4 separate regions of the Homo sapiens genome follow, and regions 1, 3 and 4 are each linked to region 2. Evidence: promoter capture Hi-C in 16 types of primary human blood cells and fetal thymus (Javierre and others, 2016). All regions are on one chromosome and are shown on one strand. Each heading gives the region's core, a stretch centred on a gene start or on the middle of the fragment in contact. The rest is flanking DNA. Distances are from core to core; before and after follow the strand shown. Region 1 holds the start of ATG4C (autophagy related 4C cysteine peptidase). Region 2 holds the start of ANKRD13C (ankyrin repeat domain 13C). Region 3 holds the start of MSH4 (mutS homolog 4). Region 4 holds the start of FUBP1 (far upstream element binding protein 1).

Evidence for each region. The method cuts DNA at HindIII sites, captures the fragments that hold promoters and counts their contacts. A CHiCAGO score of 5 or more calls a contact.
Region 1: a contact is called between the fragment with the promoter of ATG4C here and the fragment with the promoter of ANKRD13C in region 2, in 5 of 17 cell types (non-activated CD4 T cells, activated CD4 T cells, total CD4 T cells and 2 more). The highest score is 16.9, in non-activated CD4 T cells.
Region 3: the fragment with the promoter of MSH4 here is called in contact with the fragment with the promoter of ANKRD13C in region 2 in 4 of 17 cell types (total CD8 T cells, total CD4 T cells, total B cells and 1 more); the score reaches 15.6 in total CD8 T cells.
Region 4: the fragment with the promoter of FUBP1 here is called in contact with the fragment with the promoter of ANKRD13C in region 2 in 1 of 17 cell types (non-activated CD4 T cells); the score reaches 5.2 in non-activated CD4 T cells.

Annotation. Positions count from the first base shown.
Region 1 is chr1:62,782,752-62,785,451 of GRCh38, forward strand. ATG4C (autophagy related 4C cysteine peptidase) reads left to right here and starts at 1,381. Exons shown (of 11, transcript NM_032852.4): 1 at 1,381-1,522. RefSeq lists enhancers at 1,082-1,131, 1,232-1,291, 1,412-1,591 and a silencer at 1,567-1,861. The HindIII fragment of the contact is 3,523 bases long and covers 1-2,546 here.
Region 2 is chr1:70,353,328-70,356,027 of GRCh38, forward strand. It overlaps ANKRD13C (ankyrin repeat domain 13C), which reads right to left and starts at 1,395. Exons shown (of 13, transcript NM_030816.5): 1 at 652-1,395. The coding sequence starts at 1,081. ANKRD13C-DT (ANKRD13C divergent transcript) reads left to right here and starts at 1,484. Exons shown (of 4, transcript NR_168352.1): 1 at 1,484-1,881. RefSeq lists enhancers at 1-1,001, 261-1,179, 1,135-1,184, 1,180-2,097, 1,225-1,284 and 3 more. The HindIII fragment of the contact is 4,699 bases long and covers 935-2,700 here.
Region 3 is chr1:75,795,574-75,798,273 of GRCh38, forward strand. MSH4 (mutS homolog 4) reads left to right here and starts at 1,309. Exons shown (of 20, transcript NM_002440.4): 1 at 1,309-1,656. The coding sequence starts at 1,413. The HindIII fragment of the contact is 6,934 bases long and covers 1-2,700 here.
Region 4 is chr1:77,977,782-77,980,481 of GRCh38, forward strand. It overlaps FUBP1 (far upstream element binding protein 1), which reads right to left and starts at 1,291. Exons shown (of 20, transcript NM_003902.5): 1 at 1,104-1,291. The coding sequence starts at 1,223. It also overlaps a transcript of DNAJB4 not described here. RefSeq lists enhancers at 855-904, 975-1,024, 1,035-1,094, 1,105-1,234, 1,545-1,694 and 1 more. The HindIII fragment of the contact is 9,300 bases long and covers 1-2,700 here.

The DNA of each region.
Region 1 (2,700 bases), core at 131-2,630, 7.6 Mb before region 2:
TCCTTGCTCCAACAAAATCTGCGGTACTGTAAAACGGCATAGGATTACATTTTACAGTAACAGTATTTCTCTTGACATCATTTAGGAGTGAAGATAAAAATTTCCACTTATTTATTTATTTATTTATTTATTTTTACTTTTTTGAGACAGGGTCTTGCTCTGTCGCCCAGGCTGGAGTGCAGAGGCACAATCTTGGCTCACTGAAAACTCCGCCTCCCGAGTTCAAGCGATTCTCCCGCCTCAGCCTCCTGAGTAGTTGGGACTACAGGCGCGCGCCACCGCACCCGGCTAATTTTTTATATTTTTAGTAGAGACGGGATTTCACCATGTTGGCCAGGCTGGTCTGGAACTCCTGGGCTCAAGTGATCCGCCCGCCTCGGCCTCCCAAAATGCTGGGATTACAGGCGTCAGCCGCCGCGCCTGGCCAAAAATTTCCACGTTATAAAAAGCATCTTCGGACCGTCCTTTTTTCTTTCTTTCTTTTTCTTTTCCTTCTTTTTTTTTTTTTTTTCCCCACAAAGCCTCGCTCTGTCGCCCAGGCTGGAGTGCAGTGGCGCGATCTCTGCTCACTGCAACCTTTGCCTCCCGGGTTCAAGCAATTCTCCTGCCTCAGGCTCCCGAGTAGCTGGAATTACAGGCGCCCGCCGCCACGCCCGGCTAATTTTTTAATTTTTTAACAGAGACGGGCTTTCACCATGTTGGCCAGGTTGGTCTCGAACTCCCAACCTCAAGCGATCCACCCGCCTCGGCCTCCCAAAGTGCTGGGATTACAGACGCGAACCACCGCGCCCGACTGTCCTGTGTTTTAATGCTTGAAAATAATCTGAATATGGAAAATGAGTGCACATATCCCTTGATGTTTTATAAATAACCTACAGTCCTAATAATGGCTTGGCTTAGAGTTCCTTCACAACAGGAAAAGAAGGCATCCTGGCTTTTTTTTTTTTTTTTTTTTTAAATCAAAGTGAGGCTTGGGTTGGCTCTATCTTGGTCCTGAGTGCGAGGAAGGAGGGCCGCAATGCATGCTGGATCTTGCAGTTCCTACGCCAGAGGCAAGGGCGTGATGCTGCATGGCCTGCTGGTAGTTGAAGTCCAAGTGCTCGAGAGGAATTTATGGCAGCCGTAATGTGGTTTGTCTATCAGAGAGACAATGCTCACAGACGGATACTTTCTCTTGGTTCTGCGCTTGCTGCATTGGTGGATTAGCGGCTTGGGGTGGCGAACAGGTGGGAAAAAGGGATGGATAAAGTAAGCATAGCAGAGGCCTTTACGCCGCTGCTATCGCTACTGCCAATCGCAAGGCTTTCGTATCCCGGAAGTGGCTGATCTGTTGGATTTGACGCGGAGGCGGTTCCTCTTACTACGGTGGCCGGGGTGCTCAAAGTACCTGTAGCTGCGGCGCTGAGGTCGGAACGTCTGCGTGTGTGCGGGCTGGTTTTGTGGCGGCTGCTGCTAGAGCTGGAGCATTTGCCGGGTTGGTGGCTCCTGCACATTTTTACAGTTCTCCAGTCCTTCTCTTTCGGTGAGGGATCGGCTTGAGGCTAAAGGAGTCAAGAAGTTTGGGACTTAGCGTCTCTGGTCCCCGAATGACTGGGTTTCTTGCGGGGGTCCGCCTTCAGTGAAGACCCTGTGGCCAACCATCTGGGTTCTCTGAGGGTTTTGGCGCCTTCCTTGTCTCTCCTTTCTAGTGTCATTTGTCTTCTAACTCTTCCTCGCTTTGTCCTGGGTTGCAGAGATAAACCGTAAGCCTAACTGTGGGCAGCTGTTCCTCCTTTCCTTGTGGTTTTCTTAGATGTTGCAGGCAAGACTCTTTCCCCTGATCTATCGCATCCATTTGACCCCTCCTCATGCCAGTGCTCTGTCGGCCCTGTTTTTCCTCGTTTAAAAAATAAAAAAAGGGAAATAATAATAATAACTGGATCCCCACTGTCTCTCTGTTCTCATTCCTAGCCTCTTTCTCCCTTTTTGGTGTTTGTTACTGCTTCAAGCCATAACACACTGCCTTGCATATATTAATGCCTTTCCATCTAAATATTAACGTTCATTCACTTCATTTGGTTCCCGCTCACCGTGAACTCTCCCAACCCTACCCACATCTAAGGGCTTTTGAGGTTGGAGGTGTAGAATAAATTCTTACATATGATGACTATATTCATATATGAGAACCTTCAGCGGTCAACTCAGCATCACTGCTTATTGAGTTTATATTTCTTGTGATTTCTTTGGCTTACCTTTTCGTTTTGTATTGGTTATTTACCCACATGGGGCTCACTGCTACCCTATAGTTACAGAAGAATACCTCGTCTTACATCTTTTTATATCCGAATTACTTAGGAGTTTTCTTATGTTTTCCTGCTCGGACCATATGTCCCCGGTGGGTTTTTGGCAATGATTTTGTGTCAGTTGATGGCAGAAAGAGACAAGGGAATGATCTTCTTGCTTGCTTGTGACTTGTAATTAGATTATGAGCCATTGAGAATACCCAGAGGGAGTGGAAAGGCTTTGAAAGGTAAAGTCTATGTATTTTCTGAGTTTCAAATTGATAAAGCTTCTTCTTTGAACAGGAAGAGTTTCTATTTAGTCCAATAATCTGAGGCTATATTGAATTACCAGTTCATTCGCTATAAAATTTTTAGAACCACATGTCAAAAAGTGGCCCATCTAAAGAATTGTATAATTTAGCAAAAAGTCATTAAAAGC
Region 2 (2,700 bases), core at 145-2,644:
ATTACTATTAGCAATTATCTACTTAAAACAAGCAAAAAATCAAATCTCTACTCAAACAAAAATCGGCTGTTGAGAAGTCACTTTAACTGTTCTACGTATCAAATACCAACAAATTTCTACTGTGTGGCTTTCAGAAATCTAACATTCTAAGTTTACTGAAAGCAGACAAAAAAGAAACAACCTGGTGGCAGGCAAAATCACAACCAGTTGCAGTCAAGATGGGATCTGTATGTGAGCAATGAAGGGAGGAGGGCAATTTATGCGTTCAAAATTTAAAATGCCAAGGTAGGGGGAAGAGAGAGAAATAAAGATATATAGCTCCATAAACAAAGGGAGAAAACCATGTTGGGTGGGAGGCAACCTAAAATTTCTGACAGTCCAGAATCAGCAAATCGAAGGCCTGTCTCAAACAAAACAGCTTCTCACGACAAACTTTGAAGTGGGCAAGGAGGATACATTCCTTTGCACCCACAAGAACCAACCCCTTGACCACTGGCACGCTATTACTGAGTCGATCATGATTTACCGAACGGCCCGGATGATGGGCAAAAAGAAGAGTCTGCTGGAGGGGGCCTAGGATTCCAGAAGCCTGGGGAGGCACACCCTAGGCTCGGGGAAGGAGAGAGGTGGAGAGGGGCTAGCACTCCTCACCGTGATTATCTTTCTGCCCGATATTGTGCGTGCGGATGAGAGAGGAGAGTCTCCTCACATCCCCCTTGAAGACGCACTCGTGCACCGGGTAGTGTGCGGGGCAACTGCCTCCATCCGCGACGACAGCAACGGGGTTGGTGCCGGCCAGAAGGGCCGGGGACTGGGAGTTGGCAGTCACGGAGGAATTGTGCAGCGGCAGAGCCGGGGCGCCGGGGGGATTGGAGGAGGCCGGAGCTGCCTTCAGCTGTAGCCGGTGGTGATGGTTACTGAAGATCTTATGACAAGCTTTGCCGCCCTTGCCAATCCTGCTTCTGGTAAAGGTACCGCCGAGGGCAGCCGCCGCTTCCTCATCCCCGGGCTCCAGCAGGTCCCCTTCTTCTTTGCTGGGCTTGTGGTCCCTCCGCAGTGAGCGGATCTTCTCCCCGGTCATCGCCGCCGCCAGGGGCAAGGGGGGGAATCGGGAGGCTCACCGCTGGCGACGGAGCTGGCGCTGCGGCGGCACAAGGCGATTAGAGCGGTGGCCAAGAGCCTCCAGCGCAGCATGAACTCCCACTGAGCCCCCGAGCCTGGGACAAACGCATCTCCCGGGGAAGAGCCGGCTCTCGCCTAGGCACGAAGGGACGCGCGCTCGCTGGGGGAAGCTAGAACTCAGGTGCCCACGACACCAGGATCTCAGTCTCGCCGTCGCAGCCGCCGTCGCTGCCTTACACCGAAAAACAGGGCACGGCCATCTTCCTCTTGCTCCTCTCGCGAGAGCTCCCCCAGGAGTGAAGAGAGAGAAAACACCGCGATAAGTGAGCCACCCGCTCCCTCCCTCGCACCTTCTATTCCCAGAATCACTAGGCGCCGGCGCCTCCGAGGCAGTGTGTTTCCGCCCAGAGCTGGAGTCTCCCAGCTGCCAGCCGACCCCGAACCCGCACTCCCGCCAACCGCGCTTTTTGTGGGCGGTCGGAAACCACAGCCTCCGTTGGATATGTTCGGTGCATGTTATAAACAACCACTTAAACCCTCCGGATCTGAGCCTCCCGCAGAGGAATGCAGAATGACGCCACGGCACGCAGGATGTGATGTCACCGAGATGCAGAGGATACTCAGTCAACCAACATTTACTGAGCATCTACTTCGTGCCGTATGTACGAAGCTAGCAAATATGTACAGCACCAGTACTGATTGCAGGGAGCACTGTAGAAGAGGAATGAAGGCCAAACAATTAAAAGCGGAGGCGGGGAGGTGGGTTGCACACAAAAAAGGGAGGGACGAATTTTAGTGTTGAGTTGTCAGGAAAGTCATAGAAGAGTTTAGGTGCTGACTTTGGAAAATGATGGGCTGTCCAGCAATCGGAAAGAGGGGAGGCCACTCAAATATTTATTAGATGAATGAATTTCGGGCAGATGTCAGAGTTAACATATATGAGGGTGGGGACACTCAAGGAGGGCAAAGAATCGTGTAACTGAAATATAATTGTATTAGTTCATGGCCAACCTCAACCTAGTGTCAAACTCTGAAGAAACGTAAATCTGCCAACCATAAAACTTTAACAAAGTAACTAAAGCTGGCCACTGAGGACGTAAGGAGGGGGCTTAGCAAAACATCCTAAAGATCTTCACCCATTTAACTCTCCAAAGTCCCCCTATGTTCTGAGAGCAAATACTTCAGATCTCTCTCTCTTTTTTTTGTTTTTTTGTTTTTTTGACAGAGTCTCTGTAGTCCAGGCTAGAGTGCAGTGGTGCAATCTCGGCTCACTGCGACCTCCACCTCCCAGGTCCAAGCGATTCTCCTGCCTCAGCCTCCAGAGTAGCTGGGATTATAGGCCTGCGCCACCACACCAAGCTAATTGTTGTATTTTTAGTAGAGACGGGGTTTCACCGTGTTGGCCAGGCTGGTCTTGAACCCCTGACCTCAGTGATCCGCCAGCCTCAGCCTCCCAAAGTGCTGGGATTACAGGCATGAGCCACTGCGCCCGGCCAGATCTCTTCTTTCTTAAAGTTTATACTACTGCTAACTCATCTCCGCAAACAAACAACTCGATGGGCCTCTCTTAATCCTCCC
Region 3 (2,700 bases), core at 59-2,558, 5.4 Mb after region 2:
ATCCACCCACCTCGGCCTCCCAAAGTGCTGGGATTACAGGCGTGAGCCACCACGCCTGGCCTAAAATGAGTACAATCACTCTAGGGGTTTACAGTTTTGGTGAAAGTGAGGTATTCTCTATTTTTAAATTTTATTTTTTAGAGACAGGGTCTTCCTTTCTTCCCCAGGCTGGGGCATAGTAGTGCAATCACAGCTCACTGTAACCTTAAACTCCTGGGCTCAAGCAGTCCTTCCACCTCAGCCTCCTGAGTACCAGGGTCTACAGGTACCTGCCACCATGCCCACTATGCCCAGCTGATTTCTTAATTTTGGGGACAGGCACTGTCTTCCCCAGGCTGGTCTCCGGAGGTGAAGTAATCCTCTGGCCTCAGTCTCCCAAAGTACTGGGATTACAGGGAGGAGCCATCGTGCCCGATCTGAAAATAAGGTTTTTTGATGGAAATTGAGATTTTTCTCAAGTATGTTTGGAATGCCCTGTGCAATAATCATTCCAAGAACAGAGATGTTCTTAAGGACTGTTGTCACTGCATGTGGGTAAACCGCTGTGCATAACTGGTTTATTGAGATACTCAACAGTGGCAGGATTTCAGTAGTGGTGTAAATTAATGTCTTCTAATAGCTTCTGTATGGCAGTATCCAGATAATTTCGTCATGTTTAATCCATGGATCTCTGGTAAGTTGGTACTATTGGCCTTATTTAAGGAATTTTCTAAAGGTCACCACTGCAAAGCTGGAGTTTGAACTTCTAGTGTGCCATTAACTGATTTATATGTTAGAAACCACAGTACTAGAAATTGGTAGATGGGGAATTGTTAACTGAGAGATCTTACCCAGTCAGTCTTTCCCTGTTTCCTACTCTACTATGCACACAGCCATGTGCATACTATCTTTTGATAATATAACTATCTTTCCTATATTTGGTCACAAGATCAACCTTAGGTGGGTTATGCTGTGTGAGCATTACACGTTCTCATTGTGTCAAAGGCACTGGGTGTACTGTGTTGGGTGGTTTCTACATTTAAAGATAAGCTAGTGTGCTTGGACGTGTGGGAAATGCATGTAACATTTGCAATAAGGGAGATTGGGTGCTGTGAGAATAATGGGGCTAACAAATCGGGTGGTCATTGATGGGCCTTGCAGAGTTCTGGTCAGTCTGATACCTGCAGGCTGAGGATGTTCCAGTGAGGTTCATGTGGAAAGTGATGGGTTTGGGAATGGCTGGAAGCAGGGTCATAGACCTGAAGTACGTGAATCCATGTGGAAAGCTGAGCCTGCCTGCGCCTGCGCAGTGCAGCTTAGTGCGTCGGCGCGCAGTTCTCCCGCCCGTTTCAGCGGCGCAGCTTCTGTAGTTGGGCTACTGGAGGGGTCGCTCAGAAACCTCATACTTCTCGGGTCAGGGAAGGTTTGGGAGGATGCTGAGGCCTGAGATCTCATCAACCTCGCCTTCTGCCCCGGCGGTTTCCCCGTCGTCGGGAGAAACCCGCTCACCTCAGGGTCCCCGCTACAATTTCGGACTCCAGGAGACTCCACAGAGCCGCCCTTCGGTCCAGGTGGTCTCTGCATCCACCTGTCCTGGCACGTCAGGAGCTGCGGGCGACCGGAGCAGCAGCAGCAGCAGCCTTCCCTGCCCCGCGCCAAACTCCCGGCCAGCTCAAGGCAAGGAGTGATTGGGTGGAGGAGTCTCCTTGAGGCTAGAGGCCGGCAGTTCATGGAGGCTCGGGGGCACGTGGGTGGTGGTTACCACAGTGAAGTTGTGATTTGGTTGGGGCGTGAGATCTGAGTGCCCTGGGAATTTGGTGAGTCTGGGTGATTAGAAGCCTTGACTTTTCAAATTGGTTCTATTGCAAGACCTTGACTGTGGATGGCTCAGTTCTGAGAAAGGCTGAAGTATCCCATATAACGTCCCTCACAGTGTCTGACAAATGACAGTTTGTGCGTGAGTTTGCTGATAGAAGTTGTGAGCTGATCTTTGGCTGCTGAATTTAATTCTCCAAATCCTGCTAAGGTGGGATAAAATAGATTAAATTGAACATTTCATCTAATTCAGGGAAAATAATATGTTTAGTATTAAAAGAGTGGGCTGGGCGGTGGCTGACGCCTGTAATCCCAGCACTTTGGGAAACCAGGGTGGGCGGATCACTTGAGGCCGGGAGTTCCACACCAGCCTGGCCAACATGGTGAACCTCCCACCCCCATCCCCTATCTCTACTAAAAGTACAAAAATTATCTGGGTGTGGTGGCACGTGACTGTGGTCCCAGCTACTCAGGAGGTTGAGGTGGGAGGATGGCGAGTCCGGGAGGTCGAGGCTGCCGTGAGCTGAGATTGCGCCACTGCATTTCAGCCTGGGTGACACAGTGAGACCCTGACTCAAAACAAACAAACAAAAAAGATGCATGTCCTTCAAATCATTTATTATTTTGTTAGTCTCTATTCATGACAAAGCATCACCATTTTTCACACACGATTGCAACACAATGGTAAAGTAACAAATACCAAATCCAATGGTCATTTTTCAGTTCATCTCATGTGACCTTTCTGCTGTATTTAATGTTCTTAATTTCTTTATTTTTAGAAACAGAGTCTCGCTATGCTGCCCATGCTGGTCTCAAACTCCTGGTCTCAAGTGCTCCTGCCTCGGTCTGCCCAAGCATTGGGATTACAGGCATGAGCCACTGCTGCCTGGCCTATGTTTAATGTTC
Region 4 (2,700 bases), core at 41-2,540, 7.6 Mb after region 2:
TCCTAGTATTTCTGGTTATAAAAAAGTACAGGTACATGTTTATAATGCGTTCACATTAGATGTGTTACAACGGATTTTATGAATTCTAATTTTGACTCAATGTTCCTTCAACTGTCCCGGTAAAAAGTTAACTAAGTGAACTCCTAATGCAACGAAAACACAGCACAACACTGGTTTCTAATTATCATTAGCTTAAAACTAGTAAAAAATGCCCAGCACCTAGTACAATATGCATAGTGTCACAGAGAATAGGATTCTTTTGCTTACATGCAAATCTATACCAACACCATACATTTTGAAATGTTAAATATATTAGGGGACTATCTAAGAATGTAAAGTTCAAATTAAGGTATCTTTTATTTTCCTGGAATACACGCACTATTTTAACAGCTTTCGTCTGGGAAAGTGGTGCCTTCAGGGCAAATGCACGCACTACGTAATACAAAGAGGTCTGGTCAGTTTACGACTCTGAACTGAGAGGCAGATTCAAATTGAAACCTCTGGTATAATGGGCCTGAGGCCATTTTGAGAAATAAGGGGGGCGGACTGGTGGAACAGACTGACACGTAAATCCCGCCCAGAAAAAGGCTGCTTTCAAGTCCCTTCCTTGTAGAGGTGTGACGGTGAATGGTACTGAAAGCGGTTTTAATTGCGAGAGAGAACGGAAATGAGCTGTAAAGGCTACTTTAATGATAAATCCCTTCCCTTGCTATGGCTCCAGGACAGACCCTAGTTCTTTCCCAAACTCATTACCAGAACCTTCCATTAAATTGTGTGAAACTAACTGCGCTTTATCCCCTGGAAGAGGATCTTTATCTAAACTAGCTCACTGGAGACACGCGAGTGCCGCAGAAGCGGGAGAAAGACTTCAGGCCTTCTTTGCGTAGCACGCGTCGGGGTTCTAAGTGGATTAGGCACCAAGAACACAAAACTGGGTTCTGGTCTCTAATCGTTATTACCAACATGGGGAAACGTGTCTCTTCACATTTCAGCCCGGAAGAACACCTCTTTCCTCTTCCTCATGCGCTTAAGGGTAGCGGCCTACTCAGTCAGCGGCCAATTACCGTGAGCTTTCGGGATTCCGCCGCGCGGTCCACACTTACCTGCCGGGCTCTCTGCAGTGCATCTTTGAAAGCGTCGTTAACTCCTCCACCACCACCGCCGCCACCACCGCCACCAGCTGAGCCAGAAGAGGGGGGAGGCACTGTTGAATAGTCTGCCATGGTTGCACTATAAGAGCCGCTGCCGCCTGTTCAGAGACTTCCTCTCAGCTAACAGCTAAGAAAGAAAGAAAATGGCGGCCGTCGAAGCTCTATTACATTCTTGCGCGACCATCGTGCCGTAAAGGGGCGGAGACTGAAGGAACAAAATCTCGCGATGTTTCCGAGGCAACGCGCTGGTGTGGGTTAGGGCTGAGAAAGAACGACAGGAACAGAGACGTCGCGAGGATTAAGTTTAAGACTTCGCGAGAACAGAATTTCTTTTGGCACCTCCTCTCCGCGCGTTCTTGGGGTGAGGCTGGGTAATTGTTCCTGCAGGGTGGTGGGTGATAGTGGCCAGTTGACTGCGACTGTGTTTGGGTGGTGGGAAGCCTGAAGAAAAGGTTGTTTCTTACCGGTCGCTGCCTCAGGGAGGTAGTGCGGTAGAATTTTCCGCTATGGGTCATTCTCGGTGTCCGCGGGGAAGGGCGTGACAACGACGGGCGTGACGGCGAAGCAACAGTGTCTCGAGAGCGCTGCCGCCCGGAGGGCGCCAGGAGAAGTGCGTCCGAGACGCCGCGCGGTGATGCTCCTGAAAACGTCTGCCCGGCGTAGCGGGAACCCAGCATGATTTTCAGGGTAGTAAAGTGTCCCTGTATTTTACTTACAGACTGTCCGATTTTTTAGTTTTATCACGAGGGTGGGTGTTGAATTCAGGCTGGAAGCCTGTTAGTTCTCGACCATATTTTAAGTTTTTTGTTTAAAATAATGTGGATGAGGCTCTAAAAGTATGACTGCCCTTTTCTTTATCCAAAAACGTGATTGTTCTTAAAGTTCAGTGTTAGCCAGATTTAATAACCTAGTATATGTATGTGTCCATGGCCATTTTTATTAAGGGTTTTTTTTTGTTTGTTTGTTTGTTTTGAGAGTCTCGCTCTGTTACCCAGGCTGGAGTGCAGTGGCGCGGTCTCGGCTCACTGCATCCTCCGCCTCCTGGGTTCAAGCGATTCTCCTGCCTCAGCCTCCCGAGTAGCTGGGACAACAGGCGCCTGCCACCACGTCTGGGCTAATTTTTTGCGTTTGTAGTAGAGACGGGGTTTCACCGTGTTAGCCAGGATGGTCTCGATCTCGTGACCTCGTGATCCACCCGCCTCGGCCTCCCAGAATGCTAGGATTATAGGCGCGAGGCACTGCGCCCGGCCTGTTAAGGTCTCTTAAGTTAAGAACAGCATTGTTTCTTGACCAAAATAGATTTTGTAGCTTCTTAGGCGTAGTTTCTCCCACCCCATCCTGTGGGTACTCAAATGTAAGATCATATTCTGAATTGTCATCACAGGACTAGGTATATATATATATATATGTGTGTGTGTGTGTGTGTGTGTGTGTGTGTGTGTAAATTGGTATTTTATGTTATGTACTTCAGTTACCAAGTAATGCCAGACATTTCTTCAGACCTTCTCCAACATATCGTGGCATGTAATTTACTGTGTTAATAGTAGTA